Regions from separate parts of the Homo sapiens genome. Here regions 2, 3 and 4 are each linked to region 1. Evidence: promoter capture Hi-C in 16 types of primary human blood cells and fetal thymus (Javierre and others, 2016). All regions are on one chromosome and are shown on one strand. Each heading gives the region's core, a stretch centred on a gene start or on the middle of the fragment in contact. The rest is flanking DNA. Distances are from core to core; before and after follow the strand shown.

Region 1 (3,279 bases), core at 425-2,924:
CTGTTTTAGAATTGAAACCACAAATTGTCCTGGTTTCAGACAAGTTTGGTACCTGAGCAGGAGGTGAGGATGTATTTACAATTCAAAAGTAGTGGTTTTATAGGGGTAACAAGTCAAGCAGGTCATCACATGGTGTGACTGTTTCTGACTTTACTCTCTCCTATCTTTGTATCATAGCTTCACTCGCTCCTTGTAATGTAGCTGTTATATGACAAGTTCTTTCACTGCTTTTACAAGCTGTACTGCTTCAACACCGGCCAAAACTTCCTAAACTTCCACTGAACATTTTCATCACATTGAGAATACAAGAAACAATTTAAAACAAAAATTTCAATGTGGGTTTTCAAACCTGATCAGTGTTGAAGCTGGATGTAGGCCAGATATCTTACCTTAAAATCTTTTTTTCTTTTTCTTGAGACAGGGTCTCACTCTGTTGCCCACGCTGGAACGCAGTGGTGTGATCATAGCTCACTGCCTCCTGGCCTCAAGCAATCCTCCCTGCTTGGCCTCCCAAAGTGCTGGGATAACAGGTGTGAGCCACTGTGCCTTGCCCCATGCCTTAAAAACTTTTAAGAGTGGGATAAATGGACCATATATCTTTACTGCTAAAATGACTTAAAATTCCTGCACAATTCATGTAGCATTTCGGGAGTAGCAACATCCCCATGTACGTTTTTACCTAGGCAGTTCATCAGTAAAGGTATTTGTCAAGTGGCTTTCTTGTAGCCGGGAAGAAAGTGCATGTTAAAAACAACAACACCGGGCTGGTTTTTACTTTGTAAGTTTGAGCAAAGTGGTAGCTATACCAAACCTGGGAGTGGCTGAATGTCTTTCTATTTAGCAGTGAAAGATGATAGGAAACCAGCCAGATGGTCCTGATTTTAGGGTGAGATAGAGAGGTAAGCTCCAGATCTCATATAGGTTGCCTTTATTTCTGAGCTGTTTCTCACAGGACGGTGAGCTAAACGCTGGGTGCTTTTCCATGCAGAGATTCCTGTTTGGGGCTGGGATCAGCCATCCTACTTCACAAACAAGGAATATGCGGAAGAAGGAGTATACACAACGCTAACAACCCCAATATCAATGGAAACCCCACTTCCCACACTTTTCCTTTGGGACATCTCCCCCACCCCCCACTCCTCCCGCGTTACACGTTGCCAGGCTGCTTTGGGCGTTCCTTCCTCTGTAGTGCATTGCACGGGTACGTCATCAAATGTGCGTGTACACGTGCCAGATTCGCCTTTAAACGGTAATCTCCCCTAGGTCCAGATCGTGTACTTTCCCGTATGTAACGGTAGTGCAGTACCTGAACTATTAGTTATTTAAGTAATACGTAATGAATGAAGAGCTGAAACTGCAACCTGTTGATGGAAGAATGAATGAACGCGCTCCCCTCCTTCCTGCGGGGCTGCGCCGAGAAAATACGGTTCTGATTTAGCCACGACGTTAAAGGCTTTGACCTGTAGGGGGAGGGGAAAGAAAAGACGGGAAAAAGAAAACCAAAAAACAAAAAACCGGAAAAAGGGAAAAAGCGAAAAGGGGGAGGTCGCTCGGCCGCTCGCAGGCTCAGCCCGGTGGCCCCGCCCCGCGGCGGCCGGTGGCTGTGCGCGTGCGCAGGCGGGAGCGCGGCGGCTGGTCCAAGCCCGGCGCTGGGGGCGCGCAGCCGAGAAAGGGTTTGACGTGGCAGTTCCCAGCCCAGCTGCAACTCCGAGCGTGAGTCCAGGCTAAGGGGACGCCGGCCGGGGAAGAGGCGCGGCGGGAGAAGCGACCGCAGCGGGAGCCCGGCCACCGAGGGCTGCCGGCACTAGGCGCAGAGCCGCCAGCGCTCGGAAGCCCGCGGGGTGCGGGAGCGGGAACAGGTAAAGCCTCCCACCCGCGGACGCCTTCATGCGGGACAGCCCTGCCCAGGCACAGCGGAGCGGGTTGCGGCGCCCGGCCCGGGGACGCGGCGGGAGGCCGGGTGCTCACCTGAGGCAGTGGCGGCGGGAGGAGAACTCATTCTTTGTTCTTTAGCCTTCTAGTGCAGTTTAATAGTGGGGCCGGCGGGATGGGGGAGCAGGAGGTGGGCGTGGGCATTTTTTACCCGCCCCCACCTTTTGCCTTGGGATGCAGGAACTGCCTTGTTAGGATCCTCAGTGGCCACCATTCGAGTGTCATTGCCAGCGGTTTTCTCATCTCCTTATCAACTTAATTTCCTTTTTTGAAGGAAGGAAATGTTAGAAATATTCATGGTAAAAATGGCAACTATATCTTGAAGCCTCGGGACATCCGAATAGTGAAACTGATCTGGCCAAATACGAACTTGTTCCAGGGTTAGAAGTGCACCTTGGCTAGAGTTGCTGGGTGACAGTGAGCCAGGGGGCCGTTCTGGGGTTGGGGCTCCCCAGATTTTGATCCTAGGCCTGCTTATACCAAGTGGCTTTCTGCCGTGTCGCCGCTTGAAGCTGAGTCAGGTTTCTTTAACTTGGTGCTCTGTGTGAGGAAGTTTGACGTGGCAAACTGGGTTGCGTGAGGAAGCTGATTCCTCTGAGGACCAGTTCAGAGGGAACTGGCTGCTTCCTGTTCTTTGGAGTGACCATCTCAGCCTCTCTTTTCTGTCACTCAGCAACAGGCTGCTACTTAGGTGTGTTCGTGCCGACTTCCTAAGTGCTCTTGGTTGGATGAGCTTGACCAGCGCTCAGGCTGCCACGTCTCTCTCTGCTAAGTGGGAGGAGGAAAAAGGGGTTGTCAGAAACAAAGTGGACCAGAAGGCCTTTGCCTGCCTCTCTCCTCTTTTTCAGTTCTCCCCTTCCCAGGAGAAGGAAATGATCTCATAATATTTTTACATGGTTGCTTTTATTTTGGAAACTTATAGTTTAATATGGAAACAAAATCAAATCACAAATTTTAGGCTTCAAATTTTTAATTTGAAATGTTATTTCTTGAATATAGACAGATTCTAAGTCTTAGCAGGTATCACTGATCTCTTATCTTAAATTGTAGCAAATAAAAGAACAAAAGGAAGAATATGCTTGTATGGGGCAAATAAACTGGAGATAAATTGTAGAATCAGTGGAAATCTGGAAAGGCTTCATTTTCTAAAAGAAGGAACTGAGGCTTAGAGAGGTTCTTCAGCTCATTCCATGTCACACAGTTAAGTATGGCAGACATAGAATGGAAACCCACTTCTCTTGCATTCAAAGCATTTTCTGTCGTATTTAATTTTTTTTTTTAAATCATCAGTCCTATGAAATATCTCTTATTTTGTTAAAACCTGGAAAAAATAGAAAATTTAAAGCA
Region 2 (3,279 bases), core at 425-2,924, 700 kb before region 1:
CTAACCAGCCACGGTCGGGTACCAGTCCACAACTCAGTGGTTGGGAAGCCCCAAGGCATCATCTTCCTCAAACAGTCCTAGAAATCCTCTGAAACAATACTTTGGACTTTCTGTACACCATCGATTGAGACATTGATTTTTGTAGATGTATGTAACATTAACTGGGCTACATGTTTTTCACATTGGCAAGACCTACTAGATTTTCTGTTTGATTCTTTCTGCCTTCATGTGACAAGCTAATCTTGTCTGTTTTGATTTGATTTTACTAGTGGGTTACTTCCAGTGATAAGCTTAGCTCCAAAATATGAGGGCACTGTTCTTGAGCTTCTTCTTTACTAACTACTGTGTATAGTTCTAAACACCATAGTTTTAGTGTCATTTTTTTTATTTGGAACTCAATAACCAAGATGGTAATCAGATCTGTGTATATTATTCCCAATTGCAATCATAAATTTACTCTAAAAGTTTTCTTATAAATGTATGCATATTATATCAGAATCTTAACATTATTACATGCTTTCTATATGATTTTGAAAAACTATAAGCACATTATAAAACTTTCTATAGTCGGTGCCTCTTTCTTATTGAGATTTAAAGGGATTCACTTATATAATGTTAGAAAAAAAGGAAAAATCATATAACATGTTGATGCTGTTATTAAAGAAAATATACTAGTCCAGTCCCACTGTGCCTGATTCATTTCTTTACTGTCTGCAAGATTTACTGAATTTCATACTCATTCCCGTTTTAAAAGTAGTTTTCTTTCTTATCTGTCTTTGGATTCACTTCCCTCTTCGAAAAAGATAAATTCTAAAAGCCTTATAAACTAATTGTGTGGTTTCTTCTTTAAAAACACCCCTCTTGGGCATGCGGAAAGTGGAGAAAAGAGATAATGGTCTTCCATAAGGTGTAATGTGGCAGCTGTCAAGGTGGCTTTATTCAAAGACCTGGAATTAAACTGCTCTCCATTAAGAAGTATCCTGTGAGGTAGGAGTGGTGGTCAGAGCCAATAAGAAGGGCTTAAAACACCTGGCAGGAGATGTCTCCTTACAGCCACTGATATAACCCATCAAATATATAATAAAAATAATTTCTTTAAAAATGGATTATTGAGATTGAAACCTTTTTTCCTGTGGACCATTTATATTGAATAAATACCAAGGAGCAATATAACAAAATACCTTTATACAACACTGAGGCTAATTGGAAGAATTTGACATTTTATGAAAGACCAAGTTCCATTACTGCCATTCTTTTCACACTACTTTAATAAATAACTTTCTGAATAAAGAGCCTTTTCTTTTCTTAGCAGTTGGCTATTAGGAATTGTTTCCAGTTTCCGTAATTTTTATTTTGGCTCTTAAGATTTCACGCTTCAGACCTAAGGCAAGCAGAATGCCTTTGATAGCAGTATGACCTTTTTTTTGTACAAAGATTACACAATTGAGCAAATTGCGTAGCCATGTAGCCACATGTCTTTATTTTCTGCTGAAGTTACCAGAGACTTTGCTGTAGCCTAAATATAGACCTTTCTCATGAGGCATCCACTAAAAATTAGAAACGTAATAATTTTTAAATGATCATTATATTTACTTTACCCAAGTATATTATTTTCTACAAACACATGCTTTATGGTCTTCAAGGAGACCATACATTTTATAAATGTATTATTTTCTATAAAGTTTCTTCTCTATTGAATAAACAAAAAGGCACTCTCTATACTTGTGTAAAAGGGACACAAGTATGTCCCTTTTGTTGTGTGAATGGCCATTATAATGATAAAAAGTTGAACAAAAGAAGGGCTGTCATTTGTCTTAAGTGAGGCATTGATAAAGCTCAGGAAAGATTCTCTTTAATGAAAAAAGTAAAATGTGGACTCACATTCTCTATCATTGTGTTGTTAGGGATCACTTGGGCAAGCTACTAACATACTTCCTTCTGTTATTCCACTTAAAAAATATGTATTTCATTTATGTATCTATCTTTCCCTTCAGGCTGTTAGTTCTTGGTGATAATAATAATAGCTGTCATTTAGTGATTGCTTAACATGAACTTGGTTTATGTGTTTTGTCTAATGATTGAATCAATGAATGAATCAATGAATGGATTCTGGAAAACCCAGACTTTTAGAAAGCCTATAATCTAGCATGAAGGAAAAAGAAACACAGATCAAGCTCCTTCAATACATTTAATAAGATTTTGCTTTCTTTTCCCTTAAAATGATGAAGAAACTAGAAATAATTTGAGAGTTGATTAAATATATAAAACAGCCTACAAACTGGTGATAGAGCCAGCCATGTTGAGGGACACTGAGATAACATTTTCATTGTCAGCTTTCATATTTGTGACTGTAGCAAGATGGAGAGCATTGGGTACTAGAGAGAGAGAGATACCTAGGTTCAAATTCCAGGTGTGTGATCTCAGGCAAATATGTGACTTATTTGTGCTTCAGTTTCTTTCTCTGCAAAATTAGGATAATAAAAGAATTTACCTCACAGAATCAGAGCAAATGTGTTCCTGGTACATTTGCTCCATTAAGTATTAGTTATTGCTCATAGTGGCAATAGGTGGGGGAGGGAACATCAATTTTCAATATCTAGTAGCAATACCATTGAAATCTTTATGTTCCTATGATGTTCCAAGCCTTTTTGCACTAGCGATTCCAATAATAAGCACTCAAAAAATTATACACTCATTTTTTTGGCCAGGCGTGGTGGCTCACACCTGTAATCTCAACACTTTGGGAGGCCAAGGTGGACAGATCCTTGAGCTCAGGAGTGTGAGACCAGCCTGGCCAACATGGTGAAACCCTGTCTCTACTGAAAATACAAAAATTAGCTAGCGTGGTGGCATGCATCTGTAGTCGCAGCTACTCAGGATGCTGAGGCAGGAGAATCACTTGAACTTGGGAGGTGGAGGTTGCAGTGAGCCAAGATTGTGCCACTGCACTCCAGTCTGGATGACAGAGTGAGACTCCGTCTCAAGAAAAAAGAAAAAAAAGAAATTATACACTCATGTTTAAATTAGCTTAAGTTGAATTAGGTAGGTGGAAAGCTTACTGGGGGAAAATATGTCATATTTTGTAAGCACAAAAAAAGTGTAAACTTTTTATTCATAATGTATAACCAGTTCTCTACTTATGGGGAACAATCTGGAATTCACCATTTTCAGTAACTTCCTACGAAAGCAGCTAAAAATTGGAAAACTTTTTGGTCACTGCTTTCTCATCCTGGGTTTTCAGTGTTGTTGGAAGTGAGAGAATCAAATCTTAATGATTAT
Region 3 (3,279 bases), core at 429-2,928, 640 kb before region 1:
AGAGTGTCATATGGTGGAAATCATACAGTTTTATAGCCTTTTCAGATTGGCTTCTTTAACTTAGAAAAATGCATCCAAGGTTCCTCTATATCTTTTTATAGCTTGGTAGCTCATTTCTTTTTAGCAAAAAATATTCCGTTATAAATGTATCACATATAACACATTTTTAAATCAAATCATCTATATAGACAGAGACATCACACACCCTAAGAACTGCACTGCCCTAAGCCCTCAAGAAAAATTTAAATTCTGTCCAGTACACTCTTAGGTAAGCAAATAATATACATGATAAAATAGATTTTATGAGGTTTTTGAAATATATAATCAAAACATATTAAGTGCCCATTGCAGAAAATACAATAAATAGTGCACTAGTATTGTTATTGTTGTTATTACCATCATGGTGATGATGGTGAAAGATTTCAATCCCAGGGATTAAAATGCAAGCTTTTAGTCTTAGGTATATAAAACTTGCCTATTGAAAACACATCTAGAATAAGTTACACTTAGATTGTGCTTTTCCATTTACCAAGGCCTTTCCCATACACGACCTTGTCTGATCTTTATAGCAGTTCTGCCACATAGGCATTATTTTCATTCCTGACTTTCAGATAATAAAACTGAGTCTCAGAAACTCAGTTGTTTCACCTCTTGTAATCTGCTGAATTGCCACTTGAACCCAAGTTTTTCTATATCAAATCTTGCACACAGCATTACAAAATATTTCCATCCTCTAAGGATTCCAAATGGTCAGGTATTTATTACACAAATTAGTAATTTTCCAAGTGTAGTTCTTAGACAAGCTGCAGCAGCAGCATCTCCTGTTGAAAGTTCTTGGGCCCCATACCCATCTACTGAGGGTGAGGCCTGGGCAATCTGTGCTTTAATCAGCACTTTAAAGTTTGAGAACCACTCTTATAAAACATTGGTTTTTTTGTTAGTTTTTTGCCTAGTTGCTTGCAGTCCCTGGATTAAAGAGAGACAAGACATAACCATACAAAGCAGTTAACTAACGATTCAATGATTACAATAACACTTTTATTAGAAAGGGTCCTATAAGTTTAAACAGAAAACTCATTACAACTTTGTCTTTTTCTAATTATTTAGATTTTTCAGCTCAAAAAAGTATAACATATTCCATCCATGTAGAGAAGAGAGAAGCAAAAACATGAAGGGTTTCGGATTGAATTTCCACAGGGGCAGAACTAGGATAATCATAATTGTTTCCAGAGTTTCTTCTCCTATGTTATCTACAATTGCTTAAGCAGAACTTTGAAAGATTAGTTCCACTATCAGTCCTCTCCCCATAGATCATATCCTTGGAGAACATTTAACTGCAAAAGGCCAGAATGATGAAATTAAGACCTCTCACAGTTGGAACGAAGACAAATTGGATGTGGCATGTCATAGGCTAAGAGGGGCAAAGGGAAAGCAGACATTTTATCTGTTACAGATATTGCTTACTGATAATTCCACAAATTGTTCCTAGGATCTGTAAGTAGAGGGCAAAGATGCTCCTTCTAATTCATCATCCAAGTATGTCCTAATGAGTTGAATCAACATTCAAGAGCAACTTGAGAGGGCAAAGACATTGACCAGCCACCATTCCAGAGGTCTGATGTTCACCACTCATTCCCAGAACCAAGGGATCAGTCCAGTTTTGAAAGGAGCCTTGGGAAAGACTTTGGCAAAATCAATCAATAAATCCCTGAGGCAAAACAATCTGTTCCATGTCTATCACAGAGAGTAAGCATTTCTGAAGAGATTTAGGAGAGAAGGTGAGGTTTAGTGGTGCTTTCATCAGAGGCCAATATCCAGGGTAGGGCTGGTTCCCCAGTCAGCTCTAGACTTTGCTTGCTGCTCTAGTTTGGAATCTCTTCAAAACCTGGGGTAAACACCAGGTGAGAATGGGGCTGTTCCAAATCCCTAGGGAAAGAGTGCTTACTCTGGCCAGGGAACAGGCCCTGGTGGCCATCCTGCCACAGGTATAGTGAAGCATCTTTCTGCTCTGAACTCTGCACCTTAATTAGCCTCCAGGAGCTCTGTGAAGCCTGTCCTCAGCACAGCTGGCAGGTGATTTCATGCCTAAAGAGGCCTTTTCAATGAAGTTACCAGAAGATAATTCTCTGCATTACAGAAAGCAGGGAGAGGGAATGAGGCCAACATTACTGAGGAGTAACTATGTGCCACCCCTTTCCATACATTAACTCATTTGATCTTCATGATAACTGCATTAGGTAGGTGATTTTACACCCATTTTTTAGAAAGGAAAACAAGGCAGAGATGGTTAGTTACTACTCCAAATCACACAGTTTGTAAGAGGCATAGCTGGAATACGAACTTGGGTGTGGCTCCAAAGTCCATACTCTCCTAACTACTGTGTGTTCACAGTAGAAAGGGCCCATATGCTAATTGGCCATCTCTGAGAGAAAAGTCACTTTAAGTCTTTTGCTGTGGGTTGCTACCCAGATATCAATGGAGATTACAGTGTAGACATCACCTGTGCCATCTTTCTTAGCGTGCAAACCATACATACTAATTATGCTGTATTAAGAGAGAACTGTTATGCACTTCTATCATCTAACAAAGACAGCTGAGTCAGGAATTTTCTCATGAATTACCCTTTTTTATGTTGTCTATTCCTCTTTTTCCATTGAAATCTCCTTTCTCTATACTATCACCATACATCCCAGTTAAACAGAAGTCCAGCATCAGTGTTCTTCCATTATCTCTTACATGAGGGAAAAAAAGACTAAGGTGAACCCTTTTACAGAGGTAATCAGAGAGCACTTGCTGCTTGCTTCAGTATAATCAGAGGTAATCTGATTTTACAGAGGTAATCAGAGAGCAATCTGCTTGCTTCAGTATAATCCTCTAAGTGCTCTTTCCTTTGCCCTGAACAAGCTTGATACATAACAGAGTTGATATATATACAAGCTTGATATATAACCTCAGTGATAGTTCAGCCAGTTAATCATTCATTTGTGATGGTCTAAATCAGGAGAATGATTTTCTGTGAAGTTTGTTTAATCATTTTCAAGTGAGCCAAACTAATCCCTTGTGGAAACAAACTCCTTTCTTCCTAGAATATGTATCTATTATTCCCCATTGGGGGTTTATTTAACCATTACAGAATACCTCACTTTGTATTTGTCAACTACAATTTTATCTTTCTTTTTATAAGCTATTTGCAAAACAATTTGGTGATAGAATCCAGTCCTACAGAGCAGAGTTCCTAGGCAACATTAACCCAGGGTATTGCATGCCAGGGCAGAGCAA
Region 4 (3,279 bases), core at 407-2,906, 570 kb after region 1:
ATCCCTTTGAATTTGTTACCTTATTATTTAGGTATGTGTTTAAAGCCCTTTGAATTAAATACATTTGTTCATTGTGCATGCATGTATTAATGTATATGTGGATAATAACATGAAAATGTCAGCATATCTAGTATCTCTAAAAGCCTATCCTCTGGACTCTAGTTTTATATGATGAATGTCTACAGTGAATATTGAAAACTTCAGGTTCTACCAGAAAGGAACAACTTTCTCCAGATGCATATTCTAAACATACCATTGGAATACACCAGACCTTTTTAATATGTGAACTTGATATACAGATTTTTAACATACTGAATTCATCAATTAGAGATTTAATTCATTTCCTACTGTCTGAAGTAGTTAATACACTGTTAATGTGTTGTATATCAAACTAGACAATGATTCTGTTGGAGAAATAAAATATTTCTGCCCAGTCTACTGGAGGGCAAGAATGTAGTCATATTCATCTTACCTGCAGTAGTACTTTGGAACATGCTCAATGAAACGTTTGTTGAATGAGGAAGCCAGGATGATAAAAGTGAAAAAGAATTCTGGGAAATTATACATAATGTACAGAAGGAAAAATGAATGCAGGGTAGTACATTTAAGCAAAACTGGCAAACTTTTTTGAATGTAGCTTAGTATATTACGGCAAAGTCGACTAACTCTTTTGGCCTCAGGCACATCTTACCTCTCTCTTTGCCAAAAAGTTTAAATTAAGTCTCCCCGCTGCAATAGGACTATATTTCAAATTTTATAATGGAAATCATTTCAGAGAGAAAAATTCTATGGCAAACTTTGAAACTAATTCCTATTAGTTAGTATTTATAACTGGAATAGGTCTTCACTGTCTCTACCAAAAAATACAAAAATTAGCCAGGCGTGGTGGCAGGTGCCTGTAATCCCAGCTACTCAGGAGGCTGAGTCACGAGAATCACTTGAACCTGGGAGGTGGAGGTTGCAGTGAGCCGAGATTGTGCCACTGCACTGCAGCCTGGGTGACAGAGTGAGACTGCATCTCCAAAAAAATAGAAAATCAAAAACGTAAAATAAAAGACTTCAGATGCTATATAAGAATAAATCCAATTTAAGTTAAATGATGAGAGCACATAGACACATAGAGAAGAACAGTACACACTGGGCCTACCTGAGGGCGGAGGGTGGGAGGAGAGAGAGGATCAGGAAAAATTACTATTGGGTAGTAGGCTTAGTACCTGGGTGATGAAATAATCTGTACAACAAACTCCCATGAAACACATTTACCTTTGTAACAAACCTGCACATCTTGCACATATACCCCTGAATTTAACATAAAAGTTTTTTTAAAAAAACATGCTATGGCTGATACATGCTATAGATGAAACTCAGAACCATGTCACTAAGTGAAAAGAGGCCAGACACAAAAGACTACATACTGTATGAATCTATTGATATGAAATGTTCAAAAAAGGCAAATTTACAGTGACAGAAAACAGATCAATGGTTGACTGGGGCTGGGTTGGGGGCAGGGCTTATCTTCAAATGGGCATGAGGAACCCCGTCTATCAGCCTTCTATCTGGGTGTCAGAGATCTTCTGACATCAGATCGCCATGATGGCTATTCAATTCCATTAATGACTCAGCAGTTATGAGATGTACACTTCACCTGGGTGAGTTTTACAGTAGCTAATCATACACCCTCAAAAGGTCTATTTAAAAAGTCATAAATGAATAGATTAATTTCCACCTTCCTGGACAGTGCTCAACCAGCCTTTCCATATTCACTCTTTAAAGTTCACTCTGTCACCGTGTATTCTACCTGTAACCTGTTTCTGGATTCTGCATGCTAACATTGCGTTGAGAATTGTGCCTCTTTATTCAGGAATATGATTGGTCTATAGATTTGTTTTCTGCCATCTTTGTAAAATTTCAAACAAAAAGTTTAAAATAAATGTCATACTTACACTATAGAGAGAAAAATAAATATATTTCATCTCCAAATGAACAATCATTAAAAAAACCTTCAACTGAATATGTAAGACGTGTTAGTAGTTATTTCTTAATTATATAAGTAAAACTATAGAAAACTAAGTAGAATAGAACCAGATAAGTGACTTTTGTATTTCTCTAATTTAAAACCCTTTTATCAGGATGATAATTTATGTAAATGGGCAGTATTTCTTAGAAAACAGAAGGTCTAGAAAGAAATCTCTGCAATTGAGGACTTAAATTTGATAAAAGCCATACGAATTTTGAAATACCCACCATTCTTTATAGCACTGAACAGAACTTACTGAAAAGGACTAAGAAAGTAAATTATATAAAATAACACAAAAGGGTTCTGAAAATAATTATTTACAGTATCTTTTTTTTTTTTTTGAGAGTCTTGTTCTGACGCTCAGGCTGGAGTGCAGTGGCAGATTTCGGCTTACTGCAACCTCCGTCTCCAGAGTTCAAGTGATTCTCCTGCCCCAGCCTCCCAAGTAGCTGGGATTACAGGCGTACGCCACCACGCCTGGCTAATTTTTGTACTTTTAGTAGAGACGGGATTTCGCCATGTTGGATAGGCTGGTCTCCAACTCCTGACTTCAGGTGATCTGCTCACCTCAGCCTTCCAAAGTGCTGGGATTACAGGTGTGAGCCACTGCACCTGACTACAATTATTTACAGTCTCTAAGGGAGATAGTAGTAATGGTGATAACTAATGTTTATTGAGTACTTATGTGCTCATTAACTCATTTAATCCTAACAATTGTATGAGCGCTATACAATTATTGTCTCTAATTTACAGATGAATAGATTGAGGCACAGAGAAATAATGTAATTAACCTAAGGTTTGAAGTGGATTTGAATGTAGTCTCACTGGCTCAGAGCCCATGCTCTTAACTGGTGTTGTGTGTAAAGGGAGAAAAATGATACTAGGTATAAAATAAGTCTGAGCTTTGCTACTTGTGTGACCTTGGGAAAATTATCTATCCATTCCAAACCTGTTTCCTCATCTGTAGAAGGAAACCAGCAGTATCTTCCTTTTGGTATTATTGTTAGGATAACTTATAAGAATTATCTGGTAATTATCATTTAAAAGTTAGAGGTTTTGTTTTTTTGTCCTACATTTAATAATTATTTTGCTAATTTTAATTATTATTTAAAATTGAATTTATTTTTTGTTATTTAGAAGACAGTTTTAAGTCTTTGTATGATTGGGGAAATATATATTTTTGTTAATCGAATTTATTGATTTTTATGAAAAGTTATACTTTTTTCTAGCACTTAAATATAAGAACATATGTATGTTAAAAC

Evidence for each region. Contacts are between HindIII fragments. The CHiCAGO score rates a contact against its expected background, and 5 or more counts as called.
Region 2: a fragment that was not itself captured here is called in contact with the fragment with the promoter of SEC24D in region 1 in 1 of 17 cell types (naive CD8 T cells); the score reaches 5.4 in naive CD8 T cells.
Region 3: a contact is called between a fragment that was not itself captured here and the fragment with the promoter of SEC24D in region 1, in 3 of 17 cell types (total B cells, naive CD8 T cells and non-activated CD4 T cells). The highest score is 7.2, in total B cells.
Region 4: a fragment that was not itself captured here is called in contact with the fragment with the promoter of SEC24D in region 1 in 2 of 17 cell types (activated CD4 T cells and fetal thymus); the score reaches 5.9 in activated CD4 T cells.

The regions. Positions count from the first base shown.
Region 1 is chr4:118,834,521-118,837,799 of GRCh38, reverse strand. It overlaps SEC24D (SEC24 homolog D, COPII component), which reads left to right and starts at 1,674. Exons shown (of 23, transcript NM_014822.4): 1 at 1,674-1,859. RefSeq lists enhancers at 1,512-1,806, 1,427-2,318 and a silencer at 1,511-2,000. The HindIII fragment of the contact is 6,235 bases long and covers 1-3,279 here.
Region 2 is chr4:119,531,000-119,534,278 of GRCh38, reverse strand. All of the region lies in intron 11 of PDE5A (phosphodiesterase 5A), which reads left to right. Among named protein-coding and RNA genes, the nearest start is that of PDE5A, 96 kb to the left of the region's middle. RefSeq lists an enhancer at 1,556-2,165. The HindIII fragment of the contact is 2,764 bases long and covers 293-3,056 here.
Region 3 is chr4:119,478,673-119,481,951 of GRCh38, reverse strand. It overlaps the pseudogene SEPTIN7P14. Among named protein-coding and RNA genes, the nearest start is that of LINC01061, 70 kb to the right of the region's middle. The HindIII fragment of the contact is 2,457 bases long and covers 450-2,906 here.
Region 4 is chr4:118,267,316-118,270,594 of GRCh38, reverse strand. No RefSeq gene overlaps it. Among named protein-coding and RNA genes, the nearest start is that of SNHG8, 9.8 kb to the left of the region's middle. The HindIII fragment of the contact is 3,524 bases long and covers 1-3,279 here.